Linked DNA regions of Homo sapiens: region 1 is linked to region 2. Evidence: promoter capture Hi-C in human tissues and cell types (Jung and others, 2019). All regions are on one chromosome and are shown on one strand. The core of a region is centred on a gene start or on the middle of the fragment in contact, and the rest is flanking DNA. Distances in the headings are between cores, read along the strand shown.

Region 1 (6,458 bases), core at 664-3,163, 36 kb after region 2:
CATCCCTGGCACCGCACAGTAAATGCTGGTGATCAGCACTGACACAGGCAACGTCGACAGAGCAGCGAACACAGCACAATAGGCTACAGAAGCCAGACACCCAGCCTGGGCAGCATGGCAAAACCCATCCCTACAAAAAATACAAGTATTAGGCGGGCGCCTGTGCTCCCAGCTATTCAAGGGGCTGAGGTGGGAAGATGGCTTGAGCCCATGAGGTCGAGGCTGCAGTGAGCCACGGATGAGCCTCTACTGCACCACTGCTCTCCAGCAAGGGCGACAGACTGCCAGCTCCACCTACACAACAGAAAAGGGCAAACCAAGACTCTAATTGGTGGTTGCCGGGGCTGGGGGCGGGGCAGTTACTGACCTCCGCAGGCACAAGGGGACTTTTCCCTGTTGAGGGAGCTGTTCTGTATCTTGGTGGTGGTGGTGGTTACATGCACTGAATGTGTTTGTCAAAACTAATAAAAAGAGTAAATTATACCGCAAGTTATTTTTGTTTCGTTTTGTCTTGTTTTTGAGATGGAGTCTCGCTCTGTCGCCCAGGCTGGAATGCAGTGGCGCAATCTCGGCTCACTGCAACCTATGCCTTCCCGTTTCAAGCGATTCTCCTGCCTCAGCATCCGGAGTAGCTGGGATTACAGGCGCCCACCACCACGCCCAGCTAATATTTTTTTTCTTTTAGTAGAGACTGGTTTTCACCATGTTGGCCAGGCTGGTCTTGAACTCCTGACCTCAAATGATCCCCCCCCTCAGCCTGTGCTGGGATTACAGACGTGAGCCACCATGCCCAGCCCCTCAAGTTTTTAAGATACAGCCTAAAATAATGACGATACTGATAGTAATAATAACCTTGAAAGCCAAAAAAAAAAAAAGTTCATGTTAGGATCACAACACAGAGGCCCCGGGGGTCCCCTTGTCAGAGCCGGAAGATGCCTGTTAGCAACTCAGTCCAGTGTCGGTTAGGGATTTCTGTCCACAAACTTTTCTCCTGGGAGATTCCTCAACCCAACACCGCAAAACCAGTGTGCTCTGACCCCAACCTGGCTTCACTCCTGCTTCCCAGACCAGGAGTGGCATTCCGCCAGGCACCCAGGCCCACAACAAACAGGGGGCCAGCTCCCTTGTCCGCTGCTCTCAAAACCACCACAAGTCACTGACCTGCAATTCCTCCCATTCCTCCCTGCAGCTCTGACCTGTCCAGGTACTCACCTGTGTGCCATCCCCCTCAGGACGTGCTCTATGTCCCCCACCACCCCGCCTGTGCCTCCTGCTCGGGGCCTGCCAGGCCCTCTGGCCACCAGCAGGGTTTGCTGGGTGAGCTCCTCGGTCCAGCAGTCAGAGGCCTCCACAGACTGGCACCAAAACACAATGAATGCCTACATCATCCACCCCCACTCCCACCCCACGGGACCCCTGCCTATCACTGTCCACAGGTCCAGCTCTTCACTGAAAGCAGCCTCAATGCAAGGGTTTGGGTGAGGTGGTAGGCACAGGGGCCGGGGAAAGAAGAGAGAAGGCAATGCCAGCGGCAGGCAGGCCTCACTGAACTCTAAAACCTCAACAGCGCCTCCAGCCTCCATCTGGACAGCTCCAGTGACAGGGACGTCAGCCCCCAAAGCAGCACCCCCATCTCTGGGGAGCTCGGACACTCATGGTCTCCGCCTTACACTGAGCTCAAGGCCATCATTGTCTCTGGGTCTCATTCTGCCCCCAGGCTCCCAGAGGTCAGATGGGTGACAATGGTGACCTCGTCCCTCCCGAGTCTCTGCCCGTCCTTGCAGCCACTTTTCTGGTGGATCAGGTTCCCAAGTGGAGCAAGTGCAGGGGTCCCCGTTCATCTGGCCAGGTTGGAAGCCTCTCTCTCTCTCTGTCCTCTTGCTGGCTCAAGAACGGTTTCGCTCTTATTGCAACCTCATCCCCTCAGTGACCCAGGTTAAACTTGCTGTGAATGAAAATCACCCCATCTCGCTGGAGCTGTGGGTTCTTTGCCACACATAAGACAAGCATCTTCCTCCCAGGCACTCCCGGGAAGGGTGCGTATTAATGGTCCATCCTAAGTGTGTCCTCCCAGCCACCGCACAATCCTCTCTGGCCACCTGAAATAGCAGCGTTGCTTTCTAGTTGGAAGGGGCTTCACCGACCCCATAGTGCACACTCCAACTTCATGGATCAGGAAACTGAGGCCGGGACCAGAAGGGTCAGGTATTGCTGGGTCCCCCAGACGACCGTGGTGGGGAAGGCACTCCCCAGGTCCCCATGAGCTCAGGTTGTGCCCCTGCACGTGGCCCAGCTGCTCTGAGGCAACCTCTGAGTACGTTAATGCTCATTTCTGCCTGGCTGACAATTTACAGGGAAGGTGGTTAATAGAACAGGATCAGCCCTGCAAGCAGGTGGGAAGGAGGTGCCATCCTAGGGCAAACCTTCTGATACAAACCTGTGTCGGAAGTAGCTGGTTCTAGGAACCAGAGTGGCCTTCAGTCTTCAAATCCCCCTACCCAGAAAGTCCTAATTCCTATCTTAGGTAAACGAAGGCATTCTCGGCCTGGGGTAGGGGAAACCCAACCTCCTGACTATTCTGCCAGACCACCTGCCCTGAGATCAGTAGTGTGGGGCTGGCTGGTGGGTGTAGAAGAAGGTGTTTGGGAACTCAGAGGGACTGTGGAGGAAGAGGAGTGGTGCGGTGGGAAAGGAGGCATCTGAAACCCAGCCCTCCATGCTCCCCATTTCACAAAGGAAGACACAGACAAACACTCCTGATGAATCGTAGAACACTGGTTGAGCTGGATGTTTGTGGAAGGGAGCAACAGAAGAGGACTGGAAGGGTTTTTTTGAGATGGAGTCTGGCTCTGTTGCCCAGGCTGGAGTGCAGTGGCAAGATCTCTGCTTATGGCAACCTCCACCTCCCAGATTCAAGCGATTCTCCTGCCTCAGCCTCCCGAGAAGCTGGGACTACAGGCATGTGCCACCAAACCCAGCTAATTTTTATATTTTTAGTAGAGACAGGGTTTCTCCATGTTGGCCAGGCTGATCTTGAACTCCTGGCCTCAGGTGATCTGCTCGCCTCGGCCTCCCAAAGTGCTAGGATTATAGGCCGGTGCCTGGCCAAGTCTCTGACCATTTTGAAGGTATGATGGAATCTCTGGACCGATAGGCCAGAAAAATGTATATGCTCATACACAGCCTTGTACCCTGAAAACCTCCATAGAATCCATGTGACCCCAGGTTTCAAGCCCTCAGATGAGTGGAGAGCTGAGAAGAATTCCTAGCTCGGCCTCTCTGTCTAACACGCTGTCCCACCAGCTTAGACCCACTAAGAGGGTCCACATAGTCTCTCGCCCTGAGCACCCCTACCCTAGGAGGTCTTTGTGGGGAGGGAGGTGGGGTTTGTTCCTGTTGTATCCCCCTTTTCCTATGAAAAGTGTCCTCGTTCAGATGATATGCTATATGGTCACCCCAGAGGGAGGTAACCATTCTGTTTCTCCAGCCCATGGTGGGGTGGCCATGGGATGGGGGGACCTTATTCTTCCACCACGGCCATACATCATTCCATCAGAAAGGCCACTAATGCACCCACTAGACTTGGTTGCCAGCTGATGGCAAGGTTTGTCGCCTTGGGGATCAACCTTGCCCATGTCTAAACTTACCATTGTGAGACCTTGCACCAGCCCACAACCCTTTCTCATCTTCTGAGACTTTCTTTTCCTGTCTAGACATTTACGGTCCCTCTCAATGCTTTCCTGGAATTCCCTCACTATTTCTGCCACCCTTTTTCTCTGGAATTATTTAAGAAGTATTTATTTGAATGTAGTTTTGCAAGCCACTTTAAACATTTCCCCCTAAAAGTGCCTCTTAGGAATAATGTAAACAAACGGCAATTATAAAATGATACGTGAATGCCTCCAAATTGCAGAGATTAAGCTGTAATTTTCAGTGGCGAAGACGTGGATACCAGGATGTGCAGATTATCCCACGTTTCATCAAATTCGAATGGGAGTGGAGTTCCACAGTCTGAATAGAATACTTAGCCTGATGACTAACTGAAAATTGTTTTCTATCTATTCTAAAGCACTCAAACCAGTGAAGCTTGGGAAAGTCATTGACCTCCAGTCGTTCTGCTGAGAAACATCTGGCTCTATTTCCATGGAGACCAGGGAATCTGAAGATTTGGAAAAGACCCGGAGGAAATCAGCAAGTGATCAATGGAACACTGATAATGAACCAGCCAAGGTGAAACCTGAGTTACTCCCAGAAAAAGAGGAGACTTCTCAAGCTGACCAGGATATCCAAGACAAAGAGCCTCATTGCCACATCCCAATTAAGAGAAATTCCATCTTCAATCGCTCCATAAGACGCAAAAGCAAAGCCAAGGCCAGAGACAACCCCGAACGGAACGCCAGCTGCCTGGCAGGTCAGTATCAGGGACAGCTGTCACGGCTGTTCCCTTACATCCAACTGGAGTCATCAGTGCTGAAAGGTCCTCATTAAATGAGAAAGGATAAGTGGCATTGAAAAGTACCAAGGACAGTTTCAACAGGGTAGTGCATTTTAAAACCATTATCTAAAGAACCCAAATTCCTCCACTATGATGACGTGTGTACTTAGGAGAAAGGGTTGACCCAAATTAGACAATTAGACTGGCTTCTACTGAAAAGAGATTTCTTGTTCTAGAACTCAGCAAAACACCCCTCGCTGTACATGCATTCTAGGAGGGAGACTTAGAGCCATCCACATTACGGGTCATCTGAGAACATGAATTGTCTCGGTGATGAGGTTCTGTCCTGTTCTCTCACTGTGACTGCCATAGCCAAAGCTTCTGCTGCTCTGAAAATAAATGAGATTAAAACCTTGGGAATAGATTTGCAGCAAGACTTCTTAATCTTTTAGACCAGTGCCTAGCACATTTTATCTGCTCAAAATATATGCATTGAGCAGAATAAAGTTCAGAAAACTTTACAAATGGGGTGTTGGTGCTACAGACTCTTTTCCTTGTGACGTGCTCCTGTGGTTGACAGGCAGCCTGCTGGGGGTGAAGAATGTGTGACAGTTTCCCAGCCCGGGAGGCACAGCAGCTGCCACCAGACTATATATGCTACCCTGAGTGTGCCAGAGTGGCAACCCCTGCTAAATCCAGAGACTTCATCAGTGCATTCAAAAACATTCATTAAACCCTGTATTGGGTAGCTGTTTGCCACACGTTAAACTCCCCTCAAAATATAGAGACTTAAAACAACAATATTTATTATTTCTCATGATTCTGGGGGTTGGTTTAGTGGTTGCTGTGTCTGGGCCAGTTTACCTAACCTCTGCAGTCAGCTGGTGGCTCTTCTGGGTTTGGAAGGTGGAGGACAGCCTCACTCATCTCTCTGGTGGTCTGTGAACTGGGACTGCCTGCCTCTGCTCCACGTGGTCTCTCATCCCCCAGCAGGCTGGCCCAGGCTTATGCATATGGCAGTCGGGTTCTGAGAGAGCAAGAGCAGAAGCTGCCTGGCATCTTGAGGCCTAGACGGAGACTCAGACCTTGCATAGTCCCTTGCACCATGTTCTGTCAGTCAAACCAGCCCACAGGGCCAGCCCAGACCAAAGGGGTTGGGGAAATTGACTTCACCACTCCACGGTGGTAGAATCTGTGGCTGTTGCCATCCACCACAAACACTAACAAAATCATGTATCAAGCACTGAGTTAAGCAAGAAAAATACAATGATTGAAATACTATCGTCGTGGAAGCTCAACTTTTCCATATGTTTGAAATTTCCCGTATACTAAAAGTTAAAAGCACATTCTCACACACGAGGAAGCTGGGGTCTCTGCCTTTGAGGAACCCACAATATTGTAATGATGTCATTTTAATGCAAGCCATGTGTGAAAGTTTACAGGAGAGATAAAGGCAAAGCATTAGACCCTTCTGCTGGGGTTAGGAAAGGGCTTCCCAAAGAAGATGATATTTCAGATGAGTCTTGACAAATGGGTAAGGACGGCCGGGTGCAGTGGCTCACACCTATAATCCCAGCACTTTGGGAGGCCGAGGTGGGTAGATCATCTGAGGTCAGGGGTTCGAGACCAGCCTGGCCAACATGGTGAAACTCCATCTCTACTAAAAATACAAAAATTAGCCGGGCATGGTGGTGCATGCTTGTAATGCCAGCTACCCAGGAAGCTGAGGCAGGAAAATCACTTGAACCCAGGAGGCAGAGGTTGCAGTGAACCAAAACCATGCCACTGCACTCCAGCCTGGGCAAAAGAGTAAGACTCCATCTCAAAAAAAAAAAAAAAAAAAAAAAAAAAAAAGGATAAGGACATGGCTGGGGAGAAAGTGGGAGCAGGCTTGGTTGATTTCATGCAGGTACCCGGTGGCTGTGCTAGTTTGCTAGGCAGGCATTTCAAGGGTATTCTTACCATACCCATTTTACAGATCAAAAAATAAACAACTGAGGCCCACAGAGATTGAGCCACTTAC
Region 2 (6,563 bases), core at 858-3,357:
GGATGGGTGGATGGATGAATGGGTGGGTGGATGGGTGGATGAGTAGATGGATGGGTAGATGGATGTGTGGATAAGTGGGTGGATGTGTGGATGAGTGGGTGGATGAATGGATGAGTAGGTGGGTGGGTGGATTGGTGGGTGGATGGGTGGGTGGATGGATGGATAGATGGTGGGTGGATGGATGGATGGGTGAAGGGATGGATGGTGGATGGATGGATGGTGGATGGATGGGTGGATAGATGGATGGGTGGATGGGTGGATAGATGGATGGGTGGATGGGTGGATAGATGGATGGGTGGATGGATGAATGGGTGGGTGGATGGGTAGTTGAGTAGATGGATGGGTAGATGAATGGGTGGATGAGTGGGTGGATGAATGGATGAGTAGATGGTTGGGTAGATGAATGGGTGGATGAGTGGGTGGATGAATGGATGAGTAGATGGTTGGGTGGATGGATGGATGGATGGATGGATGGATGGATGGATGGATGGATGGTTGGATGGATAGATGGTGGGTGGATGGATGGATGGAAGGGTGGGTGGATGGATGGGTGGGTGGATGGAAGTGTGGATGGGTGGATGGATGGGTGGATGGGTGGATAATGGATGGATGGATGGGTGGATGGATGGGTGGATGGGTGGATGATGGATGGATGGGTGGATGGATGGTGGATGGATGGATGGACGGATGGATGGGTGGATGGGTGGATGGATGGGTGGATGGGTGGATGGATGGGTGAGAGAATAGATGAGAGACTACTTCAATCTGGCTTTCAGGGACAAAACTGAAACCCATGTTTTGTGGCAATCAGATGGCTGTGGGAACTTTCAAAGATGGCCCTCAGGGACCCCCACCCCTGGTATTGTGCCCTGTGTAATCCCCTACCTTTGAGTGTAGGCTGTGCCTGATGACTTCCTTCTAACGAGTAGAATATGCCAGAAGTGATGGAATATCACATCCTTGAGTATATTACAAAAGACTGACCTACCTCTTCCCAGACTCTCTCCATAGCCCTCTCTGATGCAACGAGCTGCCAGGGCGGAGAGGCCCACATGGCAAAGGACTGATAGTGGCCACAGCTGACAGCTGAGAGGGGCTGAGGCCTTCATCCTACAGCCCTAAGAAACTGAATCCTGCCAACACCAGCAGCTTGGAAGTGGATCCCCCCTAGTGGAGCCATGAGATGAGACCTCAGCCCCTCCAACACTTGGATGGCAACTTATGAGAAACCCTGAGCAGAGAACCCAGCCAAGCAGTGCCCAGACTTCTAGCCACAGAAACTGAGATGACAAATGAGTGTTATTTCAAGCCACACACTTTGAGTTAATTTGTTTCCAGAACAGATAGCTAAAACAAACGCTGATTTGAGTTTTATATAAAGATGGATGATGTAGCAATTAAACTTGGCAAATGATGGTAGTGGTTTTGATACTAGTTGGCTTGGGTTTGAATCCTGGATCCCCAACTTACTAGCTGTGGGGCTTTGAGCAAGATGATCAATTTCTTGAGCCTCTGTTTCTGCATCTTTAAAATGGGCATGATTCTCTGGTCATAGTGACAACACAAGGATTACATAGATTATGTAATGTACTTAGCCCAGTGCCTGTCATGTAGTAAGCACTGGATTAAAGGAAGCTATTAGAGGGAATAATAATAATAATAATAATAATAATAATAATAATAATAATGGAGCAAGATGCCTTACAAAGCAGTGAGTGTTCCATGCCTGGAAGTGATTGAGTTAAGGCCAGATGGCCATGGCAGGAAGTGACTAGAACCCTGGAGGACCCCAAAGCCTCTCCCAAATCTCAGATTTGAGGGCCGTGCAGCTGGCTTGGCCAATGCTTGGGGTTGGTGGGCCAGCTGAGCCACGGGCCCCTCTTGGTGTGACCATCAGCATTATCTTGCACTGGGCGGGCGGCGGGTATTCCAGCCATGCCCAGCCTTCCCCTCAGATAGCCCTTCCCTCCTGCACCACTTTTGTGTCAGGTATGTGGCTGCCACCCTGGCTCAACCCATGGGGCCCAGGAAGGTAAACACCCAGCCGGGAAGTGATCGTTATGGGCTCGTGGCCAGCTATGGGCCAAGGCAGGTCTAAAGGTCGGGAATGCTTACCAGTGAAGCTTTTCCAGGACAGGACGAAGTTTTTGGCTGTGGGCTCTCTGGGACAGAGTGGAGCGCCTGTGGATTTAGCCGGGGACACACCATCCTGCTCGCAGGTGCCTGGACAGGACAGGGGACGAGGGAGGAACACTCTCTGAGGAAGCCCAACTCCTATGAGCTCCTCTCTGGCAGGTGAGAGAATGGTTTTGGTATTTTTTAAAAAAATAAAATGAGATAAAACAAGAGAAGGAACAGAGGCTACCGCTAGGACAGGTAGGAAAGGAGATTACCACCCATCCATTCACTGAGGAGGAGCCCCCAAGAGAAACAGCAGCCCTGGATTCCACCCGAGGGATCCTGTCTGGTCTCGGCTTCAGCACTGCCCCTCCTGGCACTCAGTTTCACCATCTGGGAATCAGGATAAGGACTCCTTCCAGGCGCTCTTCCATTATGGCTGTGGGGTAAGTGAGATCAAAAGCAGGAATGGCTGCATAATTGCAGGGCCCTGTGCAATATAAAAATGCAGGGCCCCTTGTTAAAATAGTAAGGCTTTCAAAAGGACAACAACACAGCATTAAAGCAAGCCGGGGCACCTTCTAAGAACAGGGCCCTGTGACTGCCCAGGCCCCACACCCACGACGCCAGTCCTGATAATGAGCGTATATGTAAACGGAAGTGCCCTGATTCCTGTGTGCCATGGCACAAATCTCAGGGTCAGGAAGTGCACTTGGGAAACAGAAGTCATAGTCGTGAAGTGACAGCCCACTGCGCTTTAGCTCCCCCAGCACTGCCCCCTCCGCTCAGGGGCCCCTTTCAGAAAGACAGAAGGCCCTACCCCTCAGAACCTTCCTGATTTTTGCATCTGGCTGGCCTCAAGCCACAGCACGGTGTGACTGAAATGTGTAGGGACACAGTTTTCTTGGATGTGAAAGTGGTAGGTTCTTATTGTCTATCTTGATTTAAAATTTGGGACAGTCACACAGTCTCTGGCTGTGTAGAGGTGGGACTTGTGTTTCCTGGGCTCGTGACAGCTCTGCTATGTTCCATTGACTATCAGTGTATTTCTGCTTTTTGGGAAAATCCTTAATGCAATAAGGCCACTGGTGGGAATGTTCCAGCTTGGACACTTGCCATGTGTCTTTGTCCTCCCTGCCCCTTCTCTCTTTCTCTCTCTCTCTCTCTCTTTTTCCATTTAGGCTTCCCCTTTGCCCATGTCTCAGGCTGCCCCTTGGCACTGCTTAGCTCTGAGGAAGTAGAAGCCAGGGTCCCCTTGGGGGTCAAGCTTTCTGGTCCATGAAGGGAGACCACAGACCACCTCCCTCCACCGCACTCTCCTCCCACATCCCTTTCTGGAGCCCAAATTGTCATGGGAACCCCTCCCAGGGAGGGGATCCCCACAGGAAAGCCAGGGGTTGATCCAATGACAGTGTGAGTAACATTCCACAGCTTTCTGCCCCAGTGGGGCTGGGGACACAGATGAGGCTAGACATGGGGGAAGATGAATTGCTTTAAGAAGAGCTGATGCATGCCTGTAGTCTCAGCCACTCAGGAGGCAGAGGCAGGAGGGCTGCTTGAGCCCAGAAGTCATGCGGTGGGCTATGATCATATCACTGCATTCCAACCTGGGCAACCTGGCAAGACTCTGTCTCTGTTCCTTTTTTTTTTTTTTTTTCATTGCTTTAAGAACTTCCCTTGGCCTGTGGGAGACCGGAAGCTTGTACCAGTAACAAAATAGCCCAGATGTTGTGGGGCCACCCAGAGCCTCTCAGAGGAGACCAAACCTAACCACCCAAGCCTGCTGGCTCTACCAGGGGCGCAGGAGCTGCTGTTTGTCCCAAGAAGCTGGTGAGCCACCAGCACCAAGTCGGACATCCCGTCTCCCAAGATGACGTCCCTTCCCCATCTACATGGGCCCATTGCTTCCCGAGTAAGGAGTCAGCTCTGATGCTCTGAAGTCACCCCCCAGCACAACCCCAATGGCAAAAATTCCTTTACTCCTTCATAGATAATTGCTGTGCACAGTGTATGTGTGAGGCTTTGAAGTGGGGCTGGGGACACAGATGGGACAATGGTGGCCCTCAGGCTAGTGGAGATGAAGCGATGCTGTGTCCCACACCCCCGAGGCCAGGCCAGAAACCCCGCTTGGTGAAAAGAGCACACCAGCCCTCTCACCCCAACAACGGTGATAGGATCCTGAGGCTGAGAGGCACCGTGGCCCAGCGGAGCAGGGGGTTCCATCTCTGAGCCTGGATGGGCTGCCTCTTTTCAGACCCCCCTTCTCCCCGCACCTAAGCCCCCTCTGCTACCATGATGGTGTCTTCAGGAGGCTGCTGGGCCTCAGGAAAAATTCCTTCCCTTGGCCTGGGACCACCTCTCCCCACCTTGGGAGAGGTCAGACCAGGGGGTGGAATTCTGCCTCCAGACTGGAGGACCCACCCCAGAAGGCTGAGGACTTCAGCCTTACTCCTCCTCCCTTTGTTTGGCAGCCATCCTGGAGGCCAGGGCCGTGGGAGACCACATGGGGTCTGAGCACTGAGGAGGGGCCATTTGCTGGAGCACCCTCTGTGGGCTGCTTTTGGGAAACTAGCTCAGGTGGTTGATTAAGGACCTGGGAGCCTGGGTGAGGCCATCTCACAATCTTCCTGCCTCAACTCACTTTGCCTGTGGACAAGGAAAAAAAAAAATCACACGTTCAAATGAGGAGGATGGGCACCATCAAAGGGATGGATGATCAGCAAGGCCTGCATGGAGGAGGTGGCCTCTGAGCTGGCCATCATTCAACAATCTTCCATCACTTATTAATGATTTTCCAGGAGGAGGAGAAGAACTGGGGGTGTGGTTTGATGTATTATAAAGCAAGCATTACTACCTTGAAAATAAGGTAGTAATTCTTTTCACACTCACTCAGAATGAATGCTCCAGGTTCTCTAAATAGCATACGTTCACAGATAGCACATTCCAGGTGAAGGGACAGCAGGGTTTTAGCAAAAGGGAGGGAGCCCTGCAGTAAGGGTTGGGCCAGTGGAGGCAGAGACAGGGGAGGCATGAGGTCTGTTTAAAAGATGCCAGCTGGGCGTGCTGGCTCACACCTGTAATCCCAGCACTTTGGGAGGCTGAGGCGCATGGATTACCAGAGGTCAGAAGTTCAAGACCAGTCTGGTCAACATAGTGAAACCCCATCTCTACTAAAAATACAAAAATTGGCATGGTGGTGGACCCCTGTAATCGCAGCTACTCAGGAGGCTGAGGCAGGAGAATGGCTTGAACCCAGGAGGCAGAGGTTGCAGTGAGCCAAGTTCACGCCATTGCACTACAGGCAAGGTGACAAGAGGAAGACTCCAATTCAAAAAAAGAGAGACAGGACAGGTGGAGTGGAGGGAAGGTGGAGGGGATGGCCCAACCCAAGATGCCAGGACCCCAGAGGTCCACAGAGATGAGAGTGGGGGTCTGGATGGCCAGCGTGTCCCATGGGAAATTCATCCCTCACTTCTGCACCCTGCACCTGGTGGCTGTGCCTCAGTTGCCTTCACTTTGGGCTGGAGCTTCATGCACCAGCACCATGTCTCCCAAAGCTAGAAGCTCTGACCTCCAATCATCCAGGAGTTTTACTTTTTTTTTTTTTCTGTAGAGATGGGTTCTCACCATCTTGCCCAGGCTCATCCCAAACTCTTACACTCCAGCAATCCTCCCACCTTGGCCTCCCAAAGTGCTGGGATTAGAAGAGTGAGCCACTGCACCTGGCCCCAAGTTGCTGATGAGTTTAAAAATGGGTATATGAACCGGGTGCAGTGGGGTGTCCTGTAGTCCCAGCTACTCTGGAGGCTGAGGTGGGAGGATCGCAAATTCAGATCCAGCCTGGGCAAAATAGCAAGACCCCCATCTCTAAAAATAAATAGATCAATAAAAAGGAGTTTTGGGCAGCAACATGGATAGAAGTGGAGGCCATTATGTCAAATGAGATAAACCAAGCATAGAAAGACATATATCTCGTGTTCTCACTCATATGTGGGAGCTAAAACTGTGAAGTGGGTCTCATGATGACAGACAGTAGACTGCTGGTTACTGGAGGCCAGGAAGTGGAGCAGGGACGCAGGGATGAAGGAGTGAAAAAGAATAAAGATACTTATTGTCACTGAACTGCACACTTAAAAATTATGAAGATGGGCCGGGTGTGGTGGCTCACACCTGTAATCTCAGCATTTTTGGAGGCCAAGGTGGGCAGATCACTTGAGGCCAGGAGTTCAAGACCAGCCTGGCCAACATGGCAAAACCCTGTCTCTACTAAATATACAAAAATTAACTGGGCGTAGTGGCACCTGTAATCCCAGCTACTCGGGAGGCTGAGGCAGGAGAATCACTTGAACCAGGGAGGTGGAGGTTGCAGTGAGCCAAGATCAAACCACTGCACTAAGCCTGGGCCACAGAGCAAGACTCCGTCTCAAAAAAGAAAAAAAAAAAAA

What was found. Contacts are between HindIII fragments. The study calls those that stand out against the background at their distance.
Region 1: a fragment that was not itself captured here is called in contact with the fragment with the promoter of NGEF in region 2 in 1 of the 25 tissues and cell types used here (pancreas).

The regions. Positions count from the first base shown.
Region 1 is chr2:232,972,576-232,979,033 of GRCh38, reverse strand. NGEF (neuronal guanine nucleotide exchange factor) reads left to right here. Exons shown (of 15, transcript NM_019850.3): 2 at 4,070-4,411. The coding sequence starts at 4,144. Among named protein-coding and RNA genes, the nearest start is that of NGEF, 37 kb to the left of the region's middle. The HindIII fragment of the contact is 5,074 bases long and covers 1-4,450 here.
Region 2 is chr2:233,008,800-233,015,362 of GRCh38, reverse strand. NGEF (neuronal guanine nucleotide exchange factor) reads left to right here and starts at 2,107. Exons shown (of 15, transcript NM_019850.3): 1 at 2,107-2,295. LOC101928881 (a long non-coding RNA gene) reads right to left here and starts at 2,749. Exons shown (of 3, transcript NR_136325.1): 1 at 2,394-2,749; 2 at 2,116-2,223. The HindIII fragment of the contact is 2,443 bases long and covers 312-2,754 here.